Linked DNA regions of Homo sapiens: regions 1 and 2 are each linked to region 3. Evidence: promoter capture Hi-C in 16 types of primary human blood cells and fetal thymus (Javierre and others, 2016). All regions are on one chromosome and are shown on one strand. The core of a region is centred on a gene start or on the middle of the fragment in contact, and the rest is flanking DNA. Distances in the headings are between cores, read along the strand shown.

Region 1 (3,477 bases), core at 732-3,231, 140 kb after region 3:
GCCCATTGTGTTTCTTCATAGGTCACTGAAATAAAAAGATCTGGGGTTTAGCCTGGCTGAGGTTCTGATTCCATCATCTTGGCCAAGGCATCTTCCCTCCCTGGCTGCCATTTCCTCATCTGTAAATGAAGGGGTTGGATTACTTAGGGAGAAGTAAACTATGGCTTAAGCAGCCAAATCTGGCTCACCATTTGTTCATTTATAATTGACTATTTCTTTTAGAGCAGTTTTCGGTTCATAGCAGAATCTAATAGAAAGTTCCTGTACATCTGGCCGGGCATGGTGGCTCAAGCCTGTAATCCCAGCACTTTGAGAGGCCGAGGCGGGTGGAGCACCGGCGGTCAGGAGTTTGAGACCAGCCTGGCCAACATGGCAAAACCCCGTCTCTACTAAAAATACAAAAATTAGCCGGGTGTGGTGGCGCATGCCTGTAATCCCAGCTACTTGGGAGAATGAGGCAAGAGAATCACTTGAGCCTGGGAGGCAGAGGTTGCAGTGAGCCAAGATCACGCTACTGCACTCCAGCCCGGGTGACATAGTGAGACTCCATCTCTGAAAAAGAAAGAAAGAAAATTACTATGCATCCTTTGACCTCCACCCCCACAACCTGCTGCCCCCACTATCAACATCCCCAGACGGAGTAGTCCATTTTTTACAAGGTACAATCCATAAACCTACATTGACATCATTGTCACCCAGAATATCCATGGTTTACATTTTAGGGTTCACTCTTTGGTGGTGTATTTTTTTTTTTTTTTTTTTTTGAGACGGAGTCTCGCTGTATTGCCAGACTGGAGTGCAATGGCGCGATCTCGGCTCACTGCAACCTCTGCCTCCCAGGTTCGAGCGATTCTCCTGCCTCAGCCTCCTGAGTAGTTGAGACTACAGGTGTGCACCACCACACCCAGCTAATTTTTGTATTTTTAGTAGAGATGGGGTTTCACCATGTTGGCCAGGATGGTCTCGATCTCTTGACCTCGTGATCTGCTTGCGTCGGCCTCCCAAAGTGCTGGGATTACACACGTGAGCCACTGTGCCCGGCTGGTGTTGTATATTCTGTAGGTTTGGACAAATGTATAGTGACACGTATCTAACATGATATCCTACAGAATAGTTTAACCGCCCTAAAACTCAGTCTGCTTTTATAAAGTTTTATTGGAATACAGCCAGGCACCTTCATTATGTAACGTTTGTGGCTGCTTTTGCACTACAATAGCAGAGTTGAGTAGTTGCAACAGAAACCATATGTCTCACAAAATGTAAAATATTTATAATGGGGCCTTTTACAGAAAGGTTTCCAATATCTAGATGATTTCCAGGAAACTTCTGGAATCTGCAGTTTTCTTTTAGGCACTTGTATATAGTTTCATATCTGGATACTTAGTTATTTGTTCTTCTTCATCCCACTCCTTTTCTCACTCTCTTGGGGCCCCTCCTGTGTGCTGACATAGCTGCCACTGTCCCAGAGCAGAGGACTGTGACCCTGGATGTTGACGTGAACAACCGCACAGACCGGCTGGAGTGGTGCAGCTGTTATTACCATGGCAACTTTTCTCTGAATGCAGCCTTTGAGATCAAGCTGCACTGGATGGCGGTGACCGCAGCAGTACTCTTCGAGATGGTGAGAACCTTCATGCATGTTGTCAGGCCTTTGGCTCACCTCACAGTGGGCATGGAGATGCTTGATAGAGATTCATGTCACTTTAATTTTTTAGTTCAGGCTCTTATTACCATTCATCGGGACTATTGGAGTAACCTTTTTAAAAAATTTAAACATAGTAAAAATTTTAAGCAATCAAAAAAGGTAGAATCAGGGTTTCTTAGCCTTAGCAGTATTGACATCTGAGGCCAGATAATTCTCTGTGGGGGAGTCCTGCACCTTATGGGAAATTGAGCAACAACCCTAGCCTCTACCCACTAAATGCTAGTAGCACAGCCCCAGGTGTGGTAAGCAAAATGTCCCCAGATATTGTCACATGTCCCCAGGAAGGGGGAGTATTGCTCCCTCTTGAGAATCACTGGTTTAGAGTGAAAAGTAAGTCTGTTTCCCACTCTCATTCCCTGGGATCTACTTCTGCTTTGTTGAGTAAACTTCCAGAGAGATTCTAAGCATGGACAAAATCACGTTACTTTTTTTTTTTTTCAGCAGAGATGGTAGCATTGGATACATACTACTTACATTGCATTTTTTCTATCACCTATGTGTTCCATGTCAGTACAAATAAATCTGCCTTGGGATTTTTTTTATTATTATTGTTATTGGGATTTTTGTTTGTTTTTGTTTTGCCTCGTTGTTTTTAAGGGCTGGAGAGTTTTCTATTATTTGTTTAACCATAGTTAACCAGTCCCCTGTTAATAAACATCACTGCTTTGAACTCAGTGGTTCTTTACCTGGGCGGATTTTGCCACCCGGGATCATTTGGCAATATCTGAAGACAGAAAAGGGTGGCTGGGCACGGAGGTTCACGCCTTGGGAGGCCGAGGCAGGCAGATCACTCAAGGTCAGGAGTTCAAAACCAGCCTGGCCAACATGGTGAAACCCTGTCTCTACTGAAAATACAAAAATTACCCAGGCATGGTGGTGCACGCCTGTAGTCCCAGCTACTCGGGAAGCTGAGGCAGGGGAATCACTTGAACCTGGGAGATGGAGGTTGTAGTGAGCCAAGATCATGCTACTGCACTCCAGCCTGAGTGACAGAGTGAGACTTCATCTTAAAAAAAAAAGGAAAAAAAAAAAGAAGGCCGGGAGCAGTGGCTCACGCCTGTAATCCCGGGCCGAGGCAGGAGGATCACCTAAGGTTGGGGGTTCGAGACCAGCCTGACCAACATGGAGAAACCCCGTCTCTACTAAAAATACAAAAAATTAGCCAGGCGTGGTGGCGCACTGCCTATAATCCCAGCTACTCGGGAGGCTGAGGCAGGAGAATCGCTTGAACCTGGGAGGTGGAGGTTGCAGTGAGCTGAGATCGCGCCATTGCACTCCAGCCTGGGCAACAGAGCGAGAATCCGTCTCAAAAAAAAAAAAAAAAAAAAGGAAAGAAAGAAAGGGGTGAGGGCAGGGTGGGTGCTACTGGTGTCTAGTGGGTAGAGACCAGCAAAGCTGCTCATCATCCTATAATGCACAGGGCAGCCCCCACAACAAAGAATAACCAGCCCAAGATGTCACAAGTGCCAAGGTTGAGAAGCCCTGTTTTAACTGGTCTTCCTGCCTGTCCTTTCTCCTTCTAGTTCATCCTGGCCTGCATCTGTAATCAGGCCATTCACTGCTCCTACACTAAGAAGCCATACCTGACCATCCCCCATCGCAGTGCTCACTCCTTAGCCAAGTTGTCAGTATCTTCCAGGACAGCTCCTTAACCATCTTTATAGTGTGCCACTCCTTTTTATACACTCTCCAATATAGCCAAAAAGAATATTCTTCTGTGGCTTCTACTGAATCTCGCTTCTCTCAACACCAGCCCAGCCATCTCTTCATAC
Region 2 (3,710 bases), core at 401-2,900, 210 kb after region 3:
AACCTGCGAGGCAGAGGTTGCGGTGAGCCGAGATCGCGCTATTGCACTCCAACCTGGGCAACAAGAGCAAAAACTCCGTCCCCGCCCCCCCCCCCCCCCCAGAAAAAATTATTGTTGCTATTGCTTCAGATTTCCAGTAGCTCCTCAAACCCTGCTCAAAAGTCCATTTCTTTGAGTTGGGGGAAGGGGTAGGATTCTTGATAATGAAGCTATTGTTGGGTAAATTCTTGGCCGTCCTTAAATCCTTCGGGATCAGGGAGCTAGGATTCCTCTTGGCTCTGTAAGATTAAATAGGCTGTGCGTGGGCCATCAGGCCCTCCATACCTTCCTCCCATACACCCTTAGAATCTGCCATCCAGAGACTGAGAGGGTCCTCATCTTAGCAGATGTGACTATCAGGCAAGCACAAACACTATGATTCAGAGCTGGGTGTGACTTAACAGGTCTTCTTTCATTATAAAACCCAATCATTAGACTGGCTAATAAAAATTACCATCTCAAATACTTACTGTGTCTTGGGTACTTTGAATGCATGGTCTCTGAATCTTTACAGCAGCCTTAGCAGTGAGGAATGTTAATATTTTTAACACATGAGGAAACCAGGTATTCGGTGATGTAACGTGCATAGCTAGTAAGAGGCAAGGTTGAGATTGAAATGGGCTGTCTTACTTTAAGGTTCTTTCCACTACGCCATGGATATTTTGATCCCCAACTAGAGAAAAGGAGTCCTAGAAATGTTATAACAAGCCTGGCAAGGTGGTTTACACCTGTAATCCCAGTACTTTAGGAGGCCGAGGTGGGAGGAGGATTGCTTGAGTCCGGGAGTTTGAGACCAGCCCGAGCAACACAGTAAAACCCCATCTGTACTAAAAGTACAAAAATTTAGCCAGCTGTGTTGTTGCATGCCTGTAGTCCCACCTATTTGAGAGGCTGAGGTGGGAGGATTGCTTGGTCCTGGGAGGTTGAGGCTGCAGTGAGCCCTGATTACACCACTGCACTCCAGCCTGGGTGACAGCCTGTCTCAAGCAAACAAACAAACCTGAAGGAATCTATTGTCAAATTCATTTCCCAAAGTTCTACTCCCATGCCATTCTGTACTAGGAAGGGGAGGGGAAATAACATTTGCTGTCTTTTGTGAGCTAGTCAGTCACCCTGCTAAGTGAAGCTTTATGTACATTTTTATTTTTTTATTATTATTTTTGAGACAAGAGTTTCACTCTGTTGCCCAGGCTAGAGTGCAGTGGCACACTCTCAGCTCACTGCAATGTCCACCTCCCAGGTTCAAGCGATTCTCCTGCCTCAGCCTCCTGAGTAGCTGAGACTACAGGTGCATGGCACCACACCTGGCTAATTTTTGTATTTTTAGTAGAGACAGGGTTTCACCATGTTGGCCAGGCTGCTCTCCAACTCCTCACCTCAAGTGATCCTCCTGCCTCAGCCTCCCAAAGTGCTGGGATTACAGGCATAAGCCATTGCGCCCAGCCTACATTTTTTTTTTTTTTTTGAGACGGAGTCTCTCTCTGTTGCCCAGGCTGGAGGGCAGTGGCACAATCTTGGCTCAGTGCAAACTCTGCCTCCTGGGTTCGAGCGACTCTCCTGCCTCAGCCTCCCAAGTAGCTGGGATTACAGGCATGCGCCACCACGCCCAGCTAATTTTGTATTTTTAGTAGAGACAGGTTTCTCCATGTTGGTCAGGCTGGTCTCGAACTCCTGACCTCAGGTGATCCGCCCACCTCGGCCTCCCAAAGTACTGGAATTACAGGCGTAAGCCACTGCACCCGGCCAACGCCCAGCCTACATTTTAAAGTTCAAGCTAATAATCTTGTGAATTAGGTCATAGCTCCAATTTAGCAGCTCAGAGAGGAAAAGTGACTTTCTATGGTCACATAGCTGAGGAGTGGCAGAGCATGTCTTTGTGCAGGGCTTCAAGATCCTTTTCATGATGCGATGTTGTCTTCAAGACAGGGGCTGAAAGCCTGCCACTCCAGGTCTTCCTTGATAAGACCTCTTTCTTCCTTGCCAGGTAGCCTTTGCTCAATCACCTTCTTTACATTCGCCTTTTAAGCCAGATTGGTCTTTTTTACTGCCCCACCCACATCTCCAGGCAATCTGGACCTTAATGTGCTTCTTACTCCTAAAGCTTGGAGCTCCTTCACTTCAAAAAGTGAGGTACTACAGTTACAGTAGGCACTGCCGTTACAGTATAACTCAAGAGGTGGATCAAAGCACCAACTGGAATCTCTCCAGCTGCACCCAGTTTGTTCAGCCTGCTCTTACTTTTGCTCAAGCCGTTACTCTCCTGTCTGGCTTTCTTCTCTTGCCCTATTCGAATTCTATCTATGAAATCTTACCTCCTCCCTGTCAGCTACTGCGATCCCTTCTTTGGGATCCAGTACTGTGGGTCTGTACCACACAATGGCATTTATCTGTCTTCATTCATTTGACAAACACATTGAAGAGCTGCCATTATGGGGTAGACACTGGGCAGGTGGCTGGAGAGACCTTAGTGAATTATACAGACATGGACATGGACCAGGGGGCTAACTCCAGTGTTAGAGTGGGGAGATACAAAAAAGTGGGGAAGATACATTAAAAAGATATAAAGTAACTAGGAAAATGTCACTCACGGTCCTCTCCAGGTCCAGCACACAAACTCACAGTAATGAATTCATGAATAACTCATTGATTACAGGTCAGAATTTTTAAAAAGAAATGACTGAGGCTGGGCGTGGTGGCTCACGCCTGTAATCCCACCACTTTGGGAGGCTGAGGCGGGCGGATCACAAGGTCAGGAGTTCAAGACCAGCCTTGCCAACATGGTAAAACCCCATCTCTACTAAAAATACAAAAATCAGCTGGGTGTGGTGGTGCACATGTGTAATCCCAGCTATTCGGGAGGCTGAGGCAGGAGAATCGCTTGAACTCGAGAGGTGGAGGTTGCAGTGAGCCGAGATTGCGCCACTCCAGCCTGGGCGACAGAGCAAGACTCTGTCTCGGGGAAAAAAACAAAACAAAACAAAGAGAAATGGCTGAAAGGAATCCTTTATTACCCCACCCAAACCTGACAGTCATGCAGCCTTGGGCTTGGCTCTAACCTGTCAACTGGCGGTGTGACCTTGAGCAAGTCCTGGCCTCTCAGCAGCCTCTGTAAAAATGAGGTTGTTGCATTTAGTGGTCTCTGGGGACCTTTCCATTTCTGAGATTCTGTATATTATTTTCAACTGCTCTGGGAAGGTCCCCTTCCTCTTCCTGGTTTTTTCCTGCATTTCTCCCCCTCCCCCTTTCCTTCCGCTCTTCACATTTGTCCCTTCTGTATCCGCCCTCAGCCCCCATTTCCTGGCCACCCCCCAATTCCACTGAGATGGTTACCATGGGAATCATCTCCTGGAAGTGACATCACACATTTCCTAGGCAACTGTTTCCAGGACAGTGACATCATCTGATCACCATGGTAACCCTCCAGGAGGCCACTTCTGCAGTGAAATGGGCAGAGAGAATTTTATGTTTTTTCTGGAGATTGAGGGCAATGTAGGGAAATATTAACAGCAACAAAAAAATCTCAAGAGTTAGAAGAAAAAGCTTTGAATGTTGTGCTTGTTGGGGGCAAGTGGGAAACCAGTGTGGGGCTGGGAAAGAGCAGAAGCTCGGGGCTAACCCCTTCTCCTTTCCAATAACTACATTGATCATATGTCACCAAATTGGGACATTTG
Region 3 (3,603 bases), core at 880-3,379:
ACATAAAACCGTGTGCCTCAATAATCCCGAATCTGAAAGTCTCCCCTCCCTTTAATTCCAATGCATAGGGGCTGTTAATAACACTAGGCGCTGCCATGCTTGCTTCAGGAACAATACTCACAATAATGACCAGGCCCTCAGAAGCTCACAACACTCTTTTCACCTTGAGAAAGGGGCTTTCTTTTCCAAAGATTCAGACATTGTAGCCATTCCCTCCAAGAGGGAATTTGGAGAATGGGCCTCTTCTTGAGAAACAAAGAAAGAAGAGTTTTTTAATAAAATCCCAAGACAAACCAAAAGTGAGGCAGGGAAGTTCATACACTAAACAGGGCAAGCGCTTCAACATGGAGCGTGCAGAAAATCTCTAAAGCATCAAGGACTATTTCCCATTTCCTCCCTTTAATAACATCCAGAAAAAGGATCCCTGTCTCCACGTAAGGAGTGAAACTGGAAAATGCTCCTGATTTCTACTGACAGAGGCTTCCTGTATAAAAGATTTTCCTCTGTTTTATAAAGGAAAAGGAGAAAAGAAACAATCTGTGTCATTTTCCATATACAAGAGGGAAGAGATCTCTCCTCAAAGGTATAGAGTCTTCATTTTCTTGGGAGAGCAAAAGACAGGAAGAATATGGAATCGCCCACTTGGGGGGGTGGGAAGGATGTGCAGATGGAAGATTTTTTGTCACTACAGTAAGTCAGGGAAGTGGGAGAGGGCATCTCTAACCAGTCAGGAAGAAGTGATACCTTCTGTGGACAAAGGAAGTGCTGGCGTCTGGCATCAGGTCTCACTTTCTCTTAAGAGCACAGACCTGTTTCCAAAAGCTAAGTCTTTTTTTTACTGATTATTTTCAGTGAGGCCCTCTTTGTTAATTTGGGAAAGTATTGAACAGCAGGATCTAAGGGGACTGGAAGTGTCTCTTTCTCTAACCCCTAAGTGGGAGGGAGTCTTCCACTCCAGTGAGAAAGGATGGTTGAACACTTGTGATGGAGGCTGCGAGGGGCATGCATGGAAAAATATGCTTCTCTGTGCAAGATATTAGTTTTCTTTTTTAACAGATTAAGTAATAGTAATAGCAACAGCTTACCAAAAGCTTACTATATAACTAGTATTTACACAAATGCTCCCTTAGCCCGCATGACAATTCTAAGAAAACAGAACCCAAATTGGAGATGGACTGAGATTCAGACAAGTTAAACAAATAGTCAAGGTCACAAAGACGTTAAGTGAGAGACCCAGGTTTGCAACGATTACACTCCAAAAGCCATGCTCTTAATAATGCAAGGGAAAGGAGCTCACTGCACACCAAGAGGCTTAAAGGGAAGAAGAGAAGCGAGGGTCTCTCTGTGGACATCACGAGGGGAGAGGGAGAAAGGTTGATTTCTGATACCATAAAGTAAAATTTCAAGGTCTTCCTCTCCGTATCTTGGGGTACAGGCGAAAAATAAAGGAGGAAGGTAAGTCTCTTTCTTACTGGGAAGAAAGATCCCCTCTGTCACTTTCAGGCAAGTTGGGTCTCACTCTTCACCTGGGTGACGCTGACCAAAGTTGGGGGAAAGGTCTCATTTAGGGGTTATCTTTTACTCCTCCTCAGGATAAGTTCAGAATCCCCCTCGAACCCTGGGAGTGGGTCTCCCTCTGCTGACCAACGGATGAGCGCTAAGAAAGAGCGTACGCCTCCGATAAGGGGCGTCGTCCTCTCCGAGGAGATAAGTTGGGGGATCCCTGTTGTATCGAGGTTGAAGAGGAGTCTCTCTCCCGCGTCGGAGCCATGACTCGGAGAAGCCGCTTTTCTCTAGCGACGCGGGGCCTGGTCTCCTCCCTCTCCCTGGGTCGTTCCGCCGCCCACAGGGCAGCCTTGGTTCCTTTCCGCGCCCCGAGAGGGCGGGGGGCCTGGACTCCCCTTTAGCAGCACCACCCGGCGGAGGGTCCCTTTAGGGCGGAGTGGGGCGGGGCGGCTACGCCCGAAGCCTTCCAGTCCCGGCCTCTTACCCTGAGACCTCCTCCGCGGCCCGCGCTTGCCCAGCCAGCTCAGCCCCTGCAGCTGCAGCCCCGTCGTCGCCAGGTCTACCTGAGCCTACGGAGCCGACAGAGGCCGGGGGCGCTCCGGCCGCCGCCACCTCTTCGTCTCTATGGTCCCCCTGCACTTCCTCATCCGGGGCCCGAGCCAGCCATGCGGACTCGCCCAAATCCCGCCCCCGCACCGCGCGCGCGCACTCCAAGGGAAGGCTCTTCCTGATTCTGACCTCCCGCCCTCTGCTAGCCCCAGCCTCCCTCAACCCCGCCCCTGCGGCTCAAACTCTTAAAGGGAAACACAACTTTTGGTTCTGCTCCTGCTGAGCCACAGGACCCAGTGCCGGCCTTCGCTGCTGTCACCCTGTTCCAGTCCACCGTTTTTCTAGTCTGGACGGCTACAATTCTAAGGGCCTGCCTGCTTCCACTCTGGCAGCCCGAGAGATCTTATTCTACTGGAAAGAGTGTTTTGGGTCATGACACTCCTCTGCTTCTTCTAATCACACTGACCACTAAATAAATGGCACCTCTGCCTCCAGTTGGTTACAGAACCTTGTTTTATTTTCTTCATAGCTTTAACACTAGCTGAAATTTCTATGTCTCATCTCTTTATTGACTTGTTTATCATTTATCTTCCTCCACCTTGTCTGTTTTGTTCATCACTTAATGCTCAGCACCAAGAGCAGTGTCCGGCACAAAACTAGACGCTCAATGGACATTTGAAGGAAGGAAGAAATGTTTATCCAGTGGAAGAATTGAGGTCCAGATAATGAAATCGACTTGCCCCAAATAATACGGCTTTGTGTTAAAAAATAGAAATCGACCAGGCGCGGTGTCTCACGCCTGTAATCCAGCACTTTGGGAGGCGAAAGCGGGAGAAGCACTTCAGCCCAGAAGTTTGAGACCAGCCTGGGCAACATAGTGAGACATCGTTTCTGCCAAAAAACAAACAGCTGGGTCTGGTGATGTGTGCCTGTAATCCCAGCTACTCTGGAGGCTGAGGCAGGAAGATCACTTGAGGCTGGAAGGTTGAGGCTGCAGTGAGCAGTGATAGTGCCACTGCACTCCAGCCTGGATGACACAGCAAGACTCTTTCTCAAAACAAAACAAAAATTGCTCAGGTGTTGATGCACCTGTGCTCCTAGCTACTGGGGAGCCTGAAGCAGGAGGATCGTTTGAGCCCAGGAGTTTGAAGCTGCATTGAGCTATGATGGTGCCCCCACTGCACTCCAGCCTGGGCAACAAAACAAGACACTGTCTCAAAAAAAAAAAAAAAAAAAAAAATTGAATGCTTCAAAGTTTCGTTTCTTTCTTTCTTTTTTTTTTTTTTGAGACGGGGCCACGTTCTGACACCAGGCTGGAGTGCAGTGGTAGGATCTCGGCTCACTGCAACCTCTGCCTCCCAGGTTCAAGAGATTCTCCAGCCTCAGCCTCCTGAGTAGCTGGGATTACAGGCGCATGCTACCATGCCCAGCTAATTTTTGTATTTTTAGTAGAGACAGGGTTTCACCATGTTGGCCAGGCTGGTCTTGAACTCCTGACCTCGAGTGATCCGCCTGCCTCGGCCTCCCAAAGTGCTGGGATTACAGGCG

Evidence for each region. Contacts are between HindIII fragments. The CHiCAGO score rates a contact against its expected background, and 5 or more counts as called.
Region 1: a contact is called between a fragment that was not itself captured here and the fragment with the promoter of PRR14L in region 3, in 1 of 17 cell types (erythroblasts). The highest score is 6.2, in erythroblasts.
Region 2: a contact is called between a fragment that was not itself captured here and the fragment with the promoter of PRR14L in region 3, in 1 of 17 cell types (endothelial precursors). The highest score is 6.3, in endothelial precursors.

The regions. Positions count from the first base shown.
Region 1 is chr22:31,892,131-31,895,607 of GRCh38, forward strand. It overlaps DEPDC5 (DEP domain containing 5, GATOR1 subcomplex subunit), which reads left to right. Exons shown (of 43, transcript NM_001242896.3): 39 at 1,452-1,621. Among named protein-coding and RNA genes, the nearest start is that of YWHAH, 51 kb to the right of the region's middle. The HindIII fragment of the contact is 4,173 bases long and covers 1-3,477 here.
Region 2 is chr22:31,960,723-31,964,432 of GRCh38, forward strand. No RefSeq gene overlaps it. Among named protein-coding and RNA genes, the nearest start is that of LINC02558, 8.2 kb to the right of the region's middle. The HindIII fragment of the contact is 975 bases long and covers 1,164-2,138 here.
Region 3 is chr22:31,748,003-31,751,605 of GRCh38, forward strand. PRR14L (proline rich 14 like) reads right to left here and starts at 2,130. Exons shown (of 9, transcript NM_173566.3): 1 at 1,991-2,130. RefSeq lists enhancers at 1,140-1,772, 2,012-2,571, 2,061-2,355. The HindIII fragment of the contact is 5,796 bases long and covers 1,090-3,603 here.